2 separate regions of the Homo sapiens genome follow, and region 2 is linked to region 1. The links are contacts of gene promoters, found by promoter capture Hi-C in human tissues and cell types (Jung and others, 2019). All regions are on one chromosome and are shown on one strand. Each heading gives the region's core, a stretch centred on a gene start or on the middle of the fragment in contact. The rest is flanking DNA. Distances are from core to core; before and after follow the strand shown.

Region 1 (7,314 bases), core at 1,095-3,594:
TTATATTACTCTTTTGAGACAGAGTCTCGCTCCATCTCCCGGGTTGGAATGCAGTGGCATGAAGTAATCTTGGTTCACTGCAACATCCGCCTCCCAGGTTCAAGTGATTCTTGTGCCTCAGCCTCTCCAATAGCTGGGATTATAGGCGCAGGCCACCATGCCTGGCTAATTTTGTATTTTTAGTAGAGATGGGGTTTCACCATGTTGGCCAGGCTGCTCTCAAACTCCTGACCTCAAGTGATCCACCCGCCTTGACCTCCCAAAGTGCCGGGATTACAGATGTGAGCCACCGCGTTTGCCCAGGTGATGATTACAAAGGAAAAGAAGCCAGAAAGGCAGGAAGTGATGTAAGCTCTAACAAGTGGTGTCAGAACAGCAAAGTCCTTGGGTGAGATGGGATGTCATGTCAGAGAAAAGCAGAAAATCTTGAGTCAAATAGTGACATCAGAGCCACACAGTGTAGTTCAAACAAGAAGTGATGTTACCACAAACAGGAAGTGATATTACGTGAAACAGGAAGTGATGCTATGTCAAACAGGAAGTAAGAGGCAAGGGCCAACCTTGGTGAGGTAGTAGACAGACTGCTGGAAGGTACACATGATGACCTCATCCAGGAGGGCCATGGCCTCATCACATAATTCCAAGTCATTGCAGAGCTGTGGGTCTGAGGACAGGCTTGGGGTTAAGAGGGAGAACCAGAAGTCGGCAGCCAGGAGCCCAGGTCCCCAGGTGCAGGGCATGATGGGAGACTTGGACAAGCCTGAGCCTGAGTCAGAGCTCACCCTCTTGGTCAGCCTCCTTCTCCATTTCCAGCACCTTCTCCTGCACAAAGCTAAGCAGCTCCGTGGTGTTGGCCATCCACAGCATGAGTGGCCGCAGCTCCACAGACACAGCTTCAGGAGTCAGGGGCACCTCGGGGACCCCCTCAGGGTGGCTTGAAAAAGAGGAAGGAATTTGTGATCCCTGCCCAACCCTCATCATAGTTTACAAACCCCAAGATCTAAGTCTAAGTGGGAGAGCAAGACCAACTCCCATTGCGCAGCTGGAAAAGTTGAGCGCAAGGAGAAGCAGAAACTTGCACTGGGGCATGCATGGGGTGAACACAGAACTAGACGCAAAACCCAACCCCTGCATCCCTCCAGACCACTCTGCTCAGAATTTCTCTTACTTTTCTGGCTGACGGTCTCCAATTTCCTTAATCTTTTCCTGTGGAACAGTAAGATCAGAATCAAGGTGAGGGGGATCCACTGAGGGGCTTAAGAGTTAATACCCTGGTTTTTATAGAAGCACAACTCTCATAGAGACTGGTCCTACTTTTCTTAGAGATGGGGTCTTACTATGTTGCCACCGGTGGTCTCCAACTCCTGAGCTCAAATGATCCTCCCACCTTGGCCTCCCAAAGAACTAGGATTACAGGCATGAGCCACTGCAACCGGCCTTCACTCTTCATACGGATTCTTTTTTTTTTTTTTTTTTTTTGAGATGGAGTTACCCTGTTGTTGCCCAGGCTGGGGTGCAATGGCTCAATTTTGGCTCACTGCAACCTCTGCCTCCCAGGTTCAAGTGATTCTCCTGCCTCAGCCTCCCAAGTAGCTGGGATTACAGGCATGTGCTACCATGCCCGGCTAATTTTTTGCATTTTTAGTAGAGACGGGGTTTCACCATGTTAGCCAGGATGGTCTCGATCTCCCGACTTCAGGTGATCTGCCCGCCTCGGCCTCCCAAAGTGCCGGGATTACAGGCATGAGCCACCACGCCTGGCTCTTGAGACAAATTCTAATCCCACAAGCTTTAGAATGGTCTCTCCTTACTTTTTAAAACATACACACCCTATGATTATGAGTGATCTAGCTCCTTCAGGTCCTCTTCTCCAATTTTTACCCCCAAGAAACTCCTTAAACCTCTCTGGTTAGGCCCTAGCTCAATAGGATGGAACGTTTCCCCCACTCTGAATGGTTTCTTTCTGGAACTTCCATCTGTAGGTCCAGTGGATTTGTGCTTCCTCGCCTCCAAGAATGAACTCGCTCACTGCTATCCAAGCTCCAAGCCCAATGGGCTGCGGTGAATTCTCACACTGATCTCTGTCAACTTCTCATCCAGTGGGATCTCTCCCCCACCATCTCCCATAATGGTTTCTTCCTAAGGTGAGTTCGTGCTTAGGTGAGCTCTCCTAAGGTGAGTTTGGGCTTCCCTCTAAGTGCAGTGGATCTACATCTCCCAGCATTCTATGGGGGGGCCCCTTGCTTAATAACCCCAAAACACCGGGTGTGGTGGCTCACACCTGTAATCCCAGCACTTTGGGAGGCCGAGGCGGGCGAACCACGAGGTCAGGAGTTCCAGACAAGCCTGGCCAATATGGTGAAACCCCGTCTTACTAAAAATACAAAAAATTAGCCGGGCGTGCTGGCAGGCGCCTGCAATCCCAGCTACTCGGGAGGCTGAGGCAGAAGAATCATTTGAACCCCGGAGGTAGAGGTTGCAGTGAACCAAGACCGCCACTGCACTCCAGCCTGGGTAACAGAGCGAGACTCCGTCTCAAAAACAAAAGCAAACAAACAAACAAACAAAACCCAAAACCCCAAATCCTTCCCGAGGCGTCATGGGAACAGTAGTATCCAGCCCAGCTATGAAAAGGGTTGAAGGTAGGGAAGGGAGGCTGGAGAAGGGACTTGGGGCGCTGGTGGGGCTGGACGGCGATTGGGGGGCGCTCACCCAGACGGCCTCCTTGATGAGCCGGGCCAGGCGGCCCAGCAGTCGTGGCAGGTGGCCCAGCTCCAGCTCACGGGCGGAATGCTGCACGCACAGCGCCAGCAGCGTGGCGGGCCCGAGGGGCGGCAGGTCTCCCGAGCCGGCGGCTGCGGCGCGCACGATCTCGCCCAGCAGCGCCTCCTCCTCGCGCGGCCGGAAGCGCAGGACTGGCTCACGGCCGTCCAGGTAGGCGGCCAGTGCCTCGCCGCGCTCCTGCAGGCCGCGGCCGCACAGGCGACAGGAGAAGGCCCAGCCAGGGCCTGGCGGCGTGGCCCCGGGGCGCGCGGGCAGCCACGGCGGCCTCGCAGGCCCCGAGCCCCCAGTGCGGGGGTCCTTGTACATGAACAGGAAGTGCTCGCCCAGCCCCAGGAGGTCGCCCGGGTGCAGCTCAGCCTCCCGCAGCAGGAGGCACCCGTTGTGCGTGACTGGGGCGCCCCGGGACGGGCGCACCATGGCCGGGTGCTCAGGGCCCGCGCGCACTGTGCAGTGACGCGGCAGGATGTCCGGGGCGTTGAGGAAGGTGTCCACATAGGGAGCCGGGGACCCCCCGCGGCCAGACGAGTTCCCACCTCGCCCAAACACGTGCTGCTCTCGCGTCATCACATACACCACAAAGTCCTGGAGGGGAAACGAGGATGCACTAAGGACATCACTTCAATCCATATCTTCAGATCTGTTCTCTCTGTTTTCTACAACAACTTTTCTATTCCCACCAACTTTTTTTTTCCTTCTTCTTCTTTTTTTTTTTTTTTTTTTTTTTGAGATGGAGTCTCGCTCTGTCCTCCAGGCTGGAGTCCAGTGGCACGATCTCGGCTCACTGCAACCTCTGCCTCCTGAGTTCAAGCAATTCTCCTGCCTCAGTCTGTTGAGTAGCTGGGAGTACAGGCGCCTGCCACCACACCCGGCTAATTTTTGTATTTTTAGTAGGGAAAGGGTTTCACCATGTTGGCCAGGCTGGTCTTAAACTCCTGATCTCAGGTGATCCACCTACCTCGGCCTCCCGAAGTGCTGGGATTACAGGCGTGAACTATCGCGCCCGGCCCCCCACCGACTTTGAATAGACACTCCAAGGAGATCTGGATCTCAAAGGACTCTCTAAGCACCCGCAACGCCACTGAGTGGACTCTTCCCAGGCACTTTGTATGGTGGATGGTCCCATAACACCCATCCCGAAGACCGGCTATGTACAAGGAGACCCCCCTTTTTTTCTTTGAGACAGAGTCACGCTCTGTTGCCAGGCTGGAGTGCAGTGGCACGATCTCGGCTCACTCCAACCTCCGCCTCCCGGGTTCAAGCGATTCCCCTGCCTCAACCTCCCGAGTAGTTGAGACTACAGGCGCGCACCATCACGCCCAGCTAATTTTTGTATTTTTAGTAGGGACAGGGTCACCATGTTGGCCAGGATGGTCTCGATCTCTTGACCTTGTGATCCGCCTGCCTTGGCCTCCTAAAGTGCTGGGATTACAGGTGTGAGCCACCACACCCAGCCAGAGACCCATTTCTTAACATGGGCTCTACCATTTCTTTCCCTCAAGCATTAGATGCTTTCAAGGAGATCCCTATTTCTAAAATGAACTGTGCAACTACCCTCACCCTCAAAGAATGGACCTTTCCAAGGAAATCTCCTTTTCCCCATCCCTGGTCCCACCTGTCCATTATTTCACCCCCACCCCACCATGGTAAAGGCTTCCAGATATATTTCCCCTTCCAATAATAGTTTTTCTCAATATTCCTCAAGCAATGAATGGGTACTTTTAAAGAGATTCCCTTGGACTGGGCATAGTGGCTGACACCTGCAATCCCAGCACTTTGGGAGGCCGAGGCAGGTGAATCACCTGAGGTCAAGAGTTCAAGACCAGACACGGTGAAACCTGTCTCTACTAAAAATACAAAAATTAGCCAGGCATGGTGGCGCATGACTGTAGTCCCAGCTACTTGGGAGGCTGAGGCACAAGAATCGCTTGAACCCAGGAGGCAGAGGTTGCAATGAGCCAAGATCAGGCTACTGCACTCCAGCCTGGGCAACAGAGTGAGACTCAAAAAAAAGAGGCCGGGCGCAGTGGAGACCAAGGCCGGCAGATCACCTGAGGTAGGGAGTTCGAGACCAGCCTGACCAACGTGGAGAAACCCTCTCTCTACTAAAAATACAAAATTAGCCAGGTGAGGTGGCTCATGCCTATAATCCCAGCTACTCGGGAGGCTGAGGCGGGAAAATCGCTTGAACCTGGGAGGTGGAGGTTGCAGGAGTTAAGTCCTGCAATGGACTCACCTATTATTCCCACCCCCCTAACAGAGGATTTCAAAGAGATAATCCCCCTTCCATCAATGGATGTTCTCAATATTCCTACAATGGACTCCTACAATGGACTCACCTATTACTCCCACTCCCCCAACGGAGGATTTCAAAGAGATAACCCCCCTTCCATCAATGGACGTTCTCAATATTCCAATCCCCAAAAAGGACATCTCCAAAAAGATCTCCATACAGTGGGCTCTTCTGGTCATTCCACGGATAAATAAATGCCTTCACGGACAACCTCTTACCATGGAGTGTTCCATCTCATTTATCAAATGAAGACAGGCATTCCAGAAGACCTCGTCCTAAAAAATGGACTCTCATCTCCATTCCATAAATGTAGAACCACTCAATCTGACCCCCTTCCATTCGCCAACCATGTCTGAGACAACAGGCATCTTGATATGCATAGATCCCCCTTCTACACTAAATTCTACCATTACCCCTACCCCATGAATGGGTGTTTCCAAAAAGACTCCTACCTCCAAAAGATTTGCTCATCTACCCTTGTAGAAAAATGGGTCTTTCCAGTCTTACCACCTTCTGAAGGTAGACTCTCCTGTTCTTCATTCCTGTCTGAAGGAATGGGATGACCCAAAATAAAAGCCCCCTTTCTACAATGGGCTCTCCTGCTCCCTAACCCAGGAAGGGATGCTTTCTTGGCACCTACAGTGAACTTTCACTTCACAGCCACTCCATGAATCGGCAAACCAAATGAATTCCTACAATAGATTCACCTGGTATTCCTGCCTCCAAGGAATGAACAATTCAAATGAAACCTTTTTTTTTTAATCTCTTTTTTTTTTTTCTTTTTTGAGACAGGGTCTCTCACTCTGTCATCAGACTGGAGTGCAGTGGCATTATCTTGGTTCACTGCAGACTTGCAGACTCCACCTCCTGGGCTCAAGTGATCCTCCTACCTCAGCCTCTCAAGTAGCTAGAATGACAGGCATACACCACCACACCTGGCTAATTTTTGTTTCTGTTTTTCTTTTTTTTTTTTTTAAGACGGAGTCTCTCTCTGTTGCCCAGGCTGGAGTGCAGTGGCGCGATCTCGGCTCACTACAAGCTCCGCCTCCCAGGTTCCCGCCATTCTCCTGCCTTAGCCTCTTGAGTAGCTGGGACTACACGTGCCCGCCACCACGCCCAGCTAATTTTTATATTTTTAGTAGACATAGGGTTTCACCGTGTTAGCCAGGATGGTCTCGATCTCATGACCTCGTGATCCGCCTGCCTCAGCCTCCCAAAGTGCTGAGATTACAGGCATGAGCCACCGCGCCCAGCCTGTTTTCCGTTTTTTATACAGATGAGGTCTCACTATGTTGCCCAGGCTTACTTTGAACTGCCACCTGGAAGAATATGTCCTTCCAATTTGACCACCTTCCCAAAAGAGACCTTCGTGTTCTCCAGCCTTGTCCAGAGGAATGGCTGTTATAATATATGCAATCCTCTTACTACAGTGAGCTCTCCCCATCTCCTTGCCCCCACAAGGAGGAATGAATTCTTCCATACAAGCTCTTTCCTGAAGAGAGTCTTACCTTCTCACCCATATACACAGTCAAGCTGCCTAACCCAATTGGATCTTTCTGTGACCGTAAAAATGGAACTGTCGAATAAGCTACACCACCTTCTTTTTGTTTTTCATTTTTTATAGAGACAAGGTTTTGCCATTGGTCCCAGCTGTACTTGTTTAGCTTGGCTGTACCATTGTTAACCATCAGTTGGCCACACCATAAGGATAATTCACCCGATCACTGCACATAAATGAATATTTCCAATAACACATTACTCACTCTCCCTCCTGGAGTGCAGTGGTGTGATCACAGCTTACTGCAGCCTAGACCTCCCTGGGCTCAGGGGATTCTCCTGCCTCAGCCTCCTGGGTAGCTGAGACTACAGATAGGTGCCACTACATCTGGGTAATTTCTTGTCCTTTTTTGTAGAGACAAGATTTCACTGTTGCCCAGGCTGGTCCCAAACTTCTGGTCTCAAGTGTTACTCCTGCTTTGGCTTCCCAAAGTGCTGGGATTACAGGAGTGAGCCACTGTGCCCAGACAACATGTTACATTTCTATTAGTGCAGTAACTTCCCACTGATCCTCAACCACCAATCCTTTCTTCCTCTTTTGTACCAATCAAGTTCTGTTGGTACCCAGCTATGTAAAATAGATAGAAGGATCAATACCACCTGCCTCCATCAATAGTGGTCAAATTGTTCCAATGTAAAGCATCACCTTCTAAAAATGGGTCAGTGCTGGCCGGGAGCGGTGG
Region 2 (6,829 bases), core at 4,330-6,829, 210 kb after region 1:
CTCCGTCTTAAAAAATAAATAAATAAATAACATTAAACTACGTCACTCAGCCTGTGAACAATGGCTCACGCTTATAACCCAGCAATTTGGGAGGCCGCAGCAGGTGGATCACTTGAGGTCACGAGTTCGAGACCAGCCCGGCCAACATGGTAAAACCGCATTTCTACTAAAAATACAAAATTAGCTGGGTGTGGTGATGGGCGCCTGTAATCCCAGCTACTCATGAGGCAGGAGAATCGCTTGAACCCAGGAGGCGGAAGTTGCAGTGAGCTGAAATTGTGTCACTGCACTCCAGCCTGGGTGACAGAGCAAGACTCCGTCCAAAAAAAAAAAAAAAAAAAAAGGGACCATGTTCTAGTGTAGGGGTAAGTGGATTGTTTTGGCCCCAACCCCAAGAGGATCAAGGGAGACCACTGCAGCTGCCCGAGAAATTCTTGCCCTCTGACAAGAAACACCCTATCCAGTCTGGGGAATTTGCCAGTCCAACCCCTCCCCTTGGCTCAAGATTCTGGGAAATCCTAAATAGTGTTTACCATTGGCCTTTTATCAGCTCCAGTATAAATGCGTCTGGCCAGACTTGCTTTACAACTATGCATAATGGATAGTTGGGCCAGGCTTGGTGGCTCATGCCTAGTGCTTTGGGAGGCCGAGGTGGGAGGATCACTTCAGCCCAAGAGTTGGAGGCCAGCCTAGGCAACATGGTGAGACACCATCTCTACAAAAAAAAATTTTATTTTCTGTTTTTTTTTTGAGACGGAGTGTGGCGCTGTCACCCAGGCTGGAGCAACAGAGCCAGACTTTGTCTCAAATAAATAAATAAATAAATAAAACCTGCAAAAAAATTTTTTTAAATGCCATTTTTCTTTCTTTCTTTCTTTCTTTTTTTTTTTGAGGCAGAGTCTTGCTGTGTCACCCAGGCTGGAGTGCAGTGGCGTGATCTCGGCTCACTGCAAGCTCTGCCTCCCGGGTTCACGCCATCCTCCTGCCTCAGCCTCCTGAGTAGCTGGGACTACAGGCGCCCGCCACCATGCCCGGCTAATTTTTTGTATTTTTAGTAGAGATGGGGTTTCACTGTGTTAGCCAGGATGGTCTTGATCTCCTGTCCTCGTGATCCGACCACCTCGGCCTCCCAAAGTGCTGGGATTACAAGCGTAAGCCACCGCGCCTGGCCATTTTTCTTTTTAATCAATCCTGCCACTTGAAGATTATATGGTAAGGGAAATCTGCAGTCTATACACAATACTGAGTTGCTCCAAGCCCTTGAGGATTGTGAGGGACCCAGTGTTCTAATTCTTGCTAGAGTGTCTACCTCCATGTTACCAGAGGCGAGTCTGACCGGGTACTGACATGTGATATACCATTAAGTGTGCAGTGGGTTCTTTTAGCCTTTCCCAAATGTCTTTCCACATGGCAGCGCCCCACAGCATTTTCTTTTTCTTCTTTTTTCTTTTTCTTTTTTTTTTTTTTCTTTTTTTTCCTGGGCAACAGAGTCTCACTCTGTTGCCCGGGCTAGAGTGCAGTGGCGTGATCTCGGCTCACTGCAAGCTCTGCCTCCTGGGTTCAAGCGATTCCAGTGCCTCAGCCTCCCAAGTAGCTGGGATTACAGGTGCACACCACCACGCCCAGCTAATTTTTGTATTTTTAGTAGAGATGGGGTTTCACCCTGTTGGCCAGGCTGGTCTCAAACTCTTGACCTCAGGTGATCCGCCCGCCTCGGCCTCCCAAAGTGCTGGGATTACAGGCGTGAGCCACTACGCCCGCCCTCTTTTTTCTTTTTTGAGACAGAGTCTCACTCTGTTGCCCAGGCTGGAGTACAGAGGTGCCATCATAGCTTACTGCAGCCTCAACCTTCCCAGCTCAAGCGATCCTCCCGCTTCAGCCTCCCTAGTAGCTGGGAATACAGATGCACACCACCACACCTGGCTAATTTTTTGCAGGTTGGTCTCGAACTCTTGGGCTCAAGAGATCTGCCCGCCACAGTCTCCCAAAGTGCTGGGATTACAGGCATGTGCCACCGTGCCCGGCATATTTTCTTTTCAGTGTTTACCTTTTTGCCTCCTCTGAGGTGCTGGAGTGCAGCAATAAGAAAGTAATAATTTTAGGCCGGGCGCAGTGGCTCACGCCTGTAATCCCAGCACTTTGGGAGGCCGAGGAGGGCGGATCACGAGGTCAGGAGATCAAGACCATCCTGGCTAACACAGTGAAACCCTGTCTCTACTAAAAATACAAAAAATTAGCCAGGCGTGGTGGTGGGCGCCTGTAGTCCCAGTTACTTGGGAGGCTGAGGCAGGAGAATGGCGTGAACCCGGGAGGCAGAGCTTGCAGTGAGCTGAGATCGAACCACTGCACTCCAGCCTGGGTGACAGAGCAAACCTTCATCTCAAAAAAAAAATATATATATATATTATATATATATATTTTTTTTTTTAGACCGGGTCTTCCTCTGTTGCCCAGGCTGGGGTGCAGTGGTGTGATCTCGGCTCACTGTAACCTCTGCCTCCCAGGCTCACGCCACTCTCCTGCCTCAGCCTCCAGACTACAGGTGCCCGCCACCACGCCTGGCTAATTTTTTGTATTTTTAGTAGAGATGGGGTTTCACCGTGTTAGCCAGGATGGTCTTGATCTCCTGACCTGGTGATCCACCCATCTTGGCCTCCCAAAGTGCTGGGATTACAGGTGTGAGCCACTGTGCCTGGCCGCTGAGTAGTATTTTGTTGAATCCACTGGCAGCTTAAAGGACATTTGGGCTTGAGCTATGTACAGCTGCTAACACCTGTGCACTGGTTTGTGTGCAAACATGTTATTTTTTCTTTCTAGGACAAATACCTGGGAGTATCAAAATTATTTTTTGATATTTATTATTAAATGATTTTTTCTTTTTCTTCATAGTAATGATATTGTGTCCTATGTGGATTTCCCTCCCCCTAAACCTTTTTTTTTTTTTTTTTTTTTTTTTGAGACAGAGTCTCTCTCTGTCACCCGGGCTGGAGAGCAGTGGTGCGATCTTGGCTCACTGCAACCTCCTCCTCCCAGGTTCAAGCAATTTACCTGCCTCAGCCTCCCAAGAAGCTGGGATTGCAGGCGTCCGCCACCATGCTTGGCTAATTATTTTGTATTTTTAGTAGAGATGGGGGTTTCACCATGTTTGCCAGGCTGGTTTCGAACTCCTGACCTTAAGTGATCCGCCCACCACGGCCTCCCAAAGTGCTAGGATTACAGGCATGAGCCACTATGCCCTGCCCCCTCCCCCCACTTTTTTTTTTTGGTAGAGATGGGGTCTTGCTTTGTTGCCCAGGCTGGTCTCAAAGTCCTGGCTTCAAGCATTCCTCCCATTTGGGCCTCCCACAGTACTGGGATTACAGGCGTGAACCACCGTGCCTGGTCCCATTTGTGTTTCTATTCAGCAGTTTGTGTAAACTTGAAGTCTGTGAATCCATGTGTGACACTCAGGTCTTAATTATTGTCTACCAAGTAAGAGAAAGTGACAATATCCTGCCCTGTGTGAAGCTGGCCAGCCAGTTAGGAATTATCATGTCCCAACCAGCCTGGGAAACTTGGCAAGACCCTGCCTTGATAAAAAGTTTAAAAATCGACTGGACACAGTGTCTCATACCTATAATCCCAGCACTTTGGGAGGCTGAGGCAGGAGGATTGCTTGAGCCCAGGAATTGGAGACCAGCCTGGACAACAAAGTGAGACCTTTTCTGTACAAAAAATTGCTGGGCATGGTGGCTCATGCAGGTAATCTCAGCACTTTGGGAGGCCAAGGCAGGCGGATCACCTGAGGTCAGGAATTCGAGGCCAGCCTGGCCAACACAGTGAAACCCCATCTCTAGTAAAAATACAAAAATTAGTCGGGCGTGGTAGTGGGCGCCTGTCATCCCAGCTACTCGGGAGGCTGAGGTAGGAGAATTGCTTGAAACTGGGAGGTGGAGGTTGCAGTGAGCCAAGATTATGCCACTGCATGATCACCCCAGCCTGGATGACAGAGCGAGACTTCGTCTCAAAAACAAAAAACAAACAACAACAGCAACAAAAATTAGCAGGCTGGGTGCAGTGGCTCATGCTTGTAATCCCAGCACTTTGGGAGGCCAAGGCAGGCAAATCGCAAGGTCAGGAGATCGAGACCATCCTGGCCAACATGGTGAAACCCTGTCTCCACTAAAAATAAAAAAAATTAGCTGGGCATGGTGGAGGGCGCCTGTGGTCCCAGCTACTCAGGAGGCTGAGGCAGGAGAATCACTTGAACCAGGGAGGCGGAGGTTGCAGTGAGCTGAGATCACACCACTGCACTCCAGCCTGGGGATAGAGTGAGACTCCGTCTCAAACAAACAAACAAACAAATAGCGGTAAGTGGGGCACATGCCTATACTCCCAGCTACTCAGGAGGCTGAGGCGGGAAGATAGCTTGAGCCCAGGAGTACAAGGCTGCTGTGAGCTATTATCACGCCACTGCAGTCCAGCTAGGTAACAGAGTGAGACCCTATCTCTAAAATAATTAATAAATAAAACAAAATAATTAGCCAGGTGTAGTAGCCAGTAGCTACTTTGGGTCCCAGCTACTGTAGTCCCAGGTACTAGGGTGGCTAAGGCAGGAGCTAATTCCTTGAGCTAAGGAATTTGAGGCTGCAGTGAGCTATGATTGTGCCACTGCACTCCTTCCTGGGCGACAGAGCGAGACCCTATATCAATAATAATTATAATAATACAGTATATTTTACATAATAGACCATAGAGCTCAATGAATCCTCCTCACAACCCTATGTAGGTAGATGTTATCATGATCTCTGCTTTCCAGAATAGAAAAGTGAGGACCAGAGAGGGCGACCTCTTGTCCAAAAGCAATACAGCCAAGAAGGGGCAAGGAGGGTTTTGAAACCAGTCGGCCAGGCTCTGGGGCTCCTAACAAGCAAAGCAGCCTGGTTTCTAAAACTATAGCTTCTGGAAGCAGCCAATTCACAGGTCTTTACCTCCTGACTGTGAGACCTCCAAAAAATGACCAGGGATCTTGGAGTCTGTTTCCCCCTTTGTGAACTGGGGACAATAGAAGCTACTTCCCAGGTCTGCGGGGAGAAATTAGGAACGAAGAAGGTAAAGCGCAGAGCTGAGGAGCTGGTCTACAGGTGCTCTATACATATTAGTAATAATTATTAAGTTTGCTGTTACAATCCTCTCTCTCTCTGTGAACAACCCCTAATGATGCGTGGCTTTGAGAGCAAAAAAGTCAGGGCAAAGTTTTGCCACAAAGTCCAGAGGGCAAGACATTAAATCTAACTCTCAAGGATTGGTGTTGGCAAGAAAGCAAACCTCTCCTCCCCACGCTGTCCTTACCCCGCGTATCCGACGAGCCTAAAGTCATAGGTAAGAGATCTGTAGAAGCGACGTCAAGGTGTGGTTCCCTCTGTAAGGCGGAGCTAAACGGTGCATTCGCCCAGCGGGGAAGCTAGAACTAAATGACCGCTCTGCCGACTGGAGCCAACGAGAATCGGCGTAGGCGCAATACGGGCGGAGGATGGGGACCCGCCCCCGGGGTGGGCGGGGCGTCAGGTACTTAATTCGCGCCTGGAGGGACCGAAGGTGCCGAGGGCTCCGCATCGCAACCATGGCGCTGCGCTGGGGCATCGTGTCTGTCGGCCTCATCTCCAGCGACTTCACAGCCGTGCTGCAGACGCTGCCTCGCTCTGAGCACCAGGTCTGCCCGCCCTCCGGATTCTGGGGAAGAGGAGGCGGGGGGCGGGACTCCAGAGTCTAAAGGAGGAGGGAGTTTAGGGTTCAGGACTAGTGAGTGGGTCGTCATTGCAGTGAAACGTCTGTTTCCTTGCTACCTCCTTCTCCATCTCTGTTCTGCAAACCTGTGGGGAAAAGAAAGATCAGATTGTTACTGTGTCTACGTAGAAAATGAAGACATAAGAAACTCCATTTTGAACTGTACTAAGAAAAATTGTTTCTGCTTTGAGATGCTATTAACCTGTAACTTTAGCCCCAACCGTGTGCTCACAGAAACATGTCCTGTATTGAATCAAAGTTTAATGGATTTAGGGCTTTGCAGGATGTGCCTTGTTAACAATATGTTTGCAGGCAGTATGCTTGGTAAAAGTCATCGCCATTCTCCATTCTCTATTAACCAGGGGCACATTGCACTGCGGAAAGCCGCAGGGACCTCTGCCCAAGAAAGCCTGGGTATTGTCCAGGGTTTCCCCCCACTGAGAAAGCCTGAGATATGGCCTCGTGGGAAAGGAAGACCTTACATCCCCTAGCCCGACACCAGTAAAGGGTCTGTGCTGAGGAGGAGTAGTGAAAGAGGGAGGCCTCTCTGCAGTTGAGATAAGAGGAAGGCTTCTGTCTCCTGCTCTCCCTGGGAATGGACTGTCTCAGTGTAAAGCGGACCATTCCCATTCCTTCTATTCTGAGATAGGAGAAAACCTACCTGTGGCTGGAGGCGAGATATGCTGGCAGTGATACTGCTCTGTTACTCTTTGCTACACTGAGATGTTTGTGTAAAGTGAAACATAAATCTAGCCTACGTGCACATCCGGTCACAGCACCTTTCCTTGAACTTATTCATGATACAGATTCCTTTTCTACATAGACACAGTAACAATCTGATCTCTCTTTCTTTTCCCCACACAAACCTGAGTGTCTTGAGGTTTGGAAAGGCCTTGATGTAAGCTACTATGAAGATAATTTCAATATTGGGGGATTTAATAACGGCTTTCCCCCAGATCTCTCTTTCCCAGGGCCCAAATGTCCAGCCCCCGTCATCTCTTCCCCCAGGACCACGTCTCCCCTTCCCCTGGCCAGAGCCTCCTCCTTTGCCTCCCTTCCACCC

Evidence for each region. The method cuts DNA at HindIII sites, captures the fragments that hold promoters and counts their contacts. A contact is called where the count stands out against the background at its distance.
Region 2: a contact is called between the fragment with the promoter of DHDH here and a fragment that was not itself captured in region 1, in 2 of the 25 tissues and cell types used here (dorsolateral prefrontal cortex and pancreas).

The regions. Positions count from the first base shown.
Region 1 is chr19:48,726,225-48,733,538 of GRCh38, forward strand. It overlaps RASIP1 (Ras interacting protein 1), which reads right to left. Exons shown (of 12, transcript NM_017805.3): 5 at 2,713-3,366; 6 at 1,169-1,206; 7 at 783-934; 8 at 561-664. LOC124904737 (a long non-coding RNA gene) reads left to right here and starts at 1,920. Exons shown (of 2, transcript XR_007067286.1): 1 at 1,920-2,144; 2 at 5,042-5,291. The HindIII fragment of the contact is 9,581 bases long and covers 1-7,135 here.
Region 2 is chr19:48,928,120-48,934,948 of GRCh38, forward strand. DHDH (dihydrodiol dehydrogenase) reads left to right here and starts at 5,580. Exons shown (of 7, transcript NM_014475.4): 1 at 5,580-5,692. The coding sequence starts at 5,603. RefSeq lists an enhancer at 5,153-5,654. The HindIII fragment of the contact is 30,682 bases long and covers 1-6,829 here.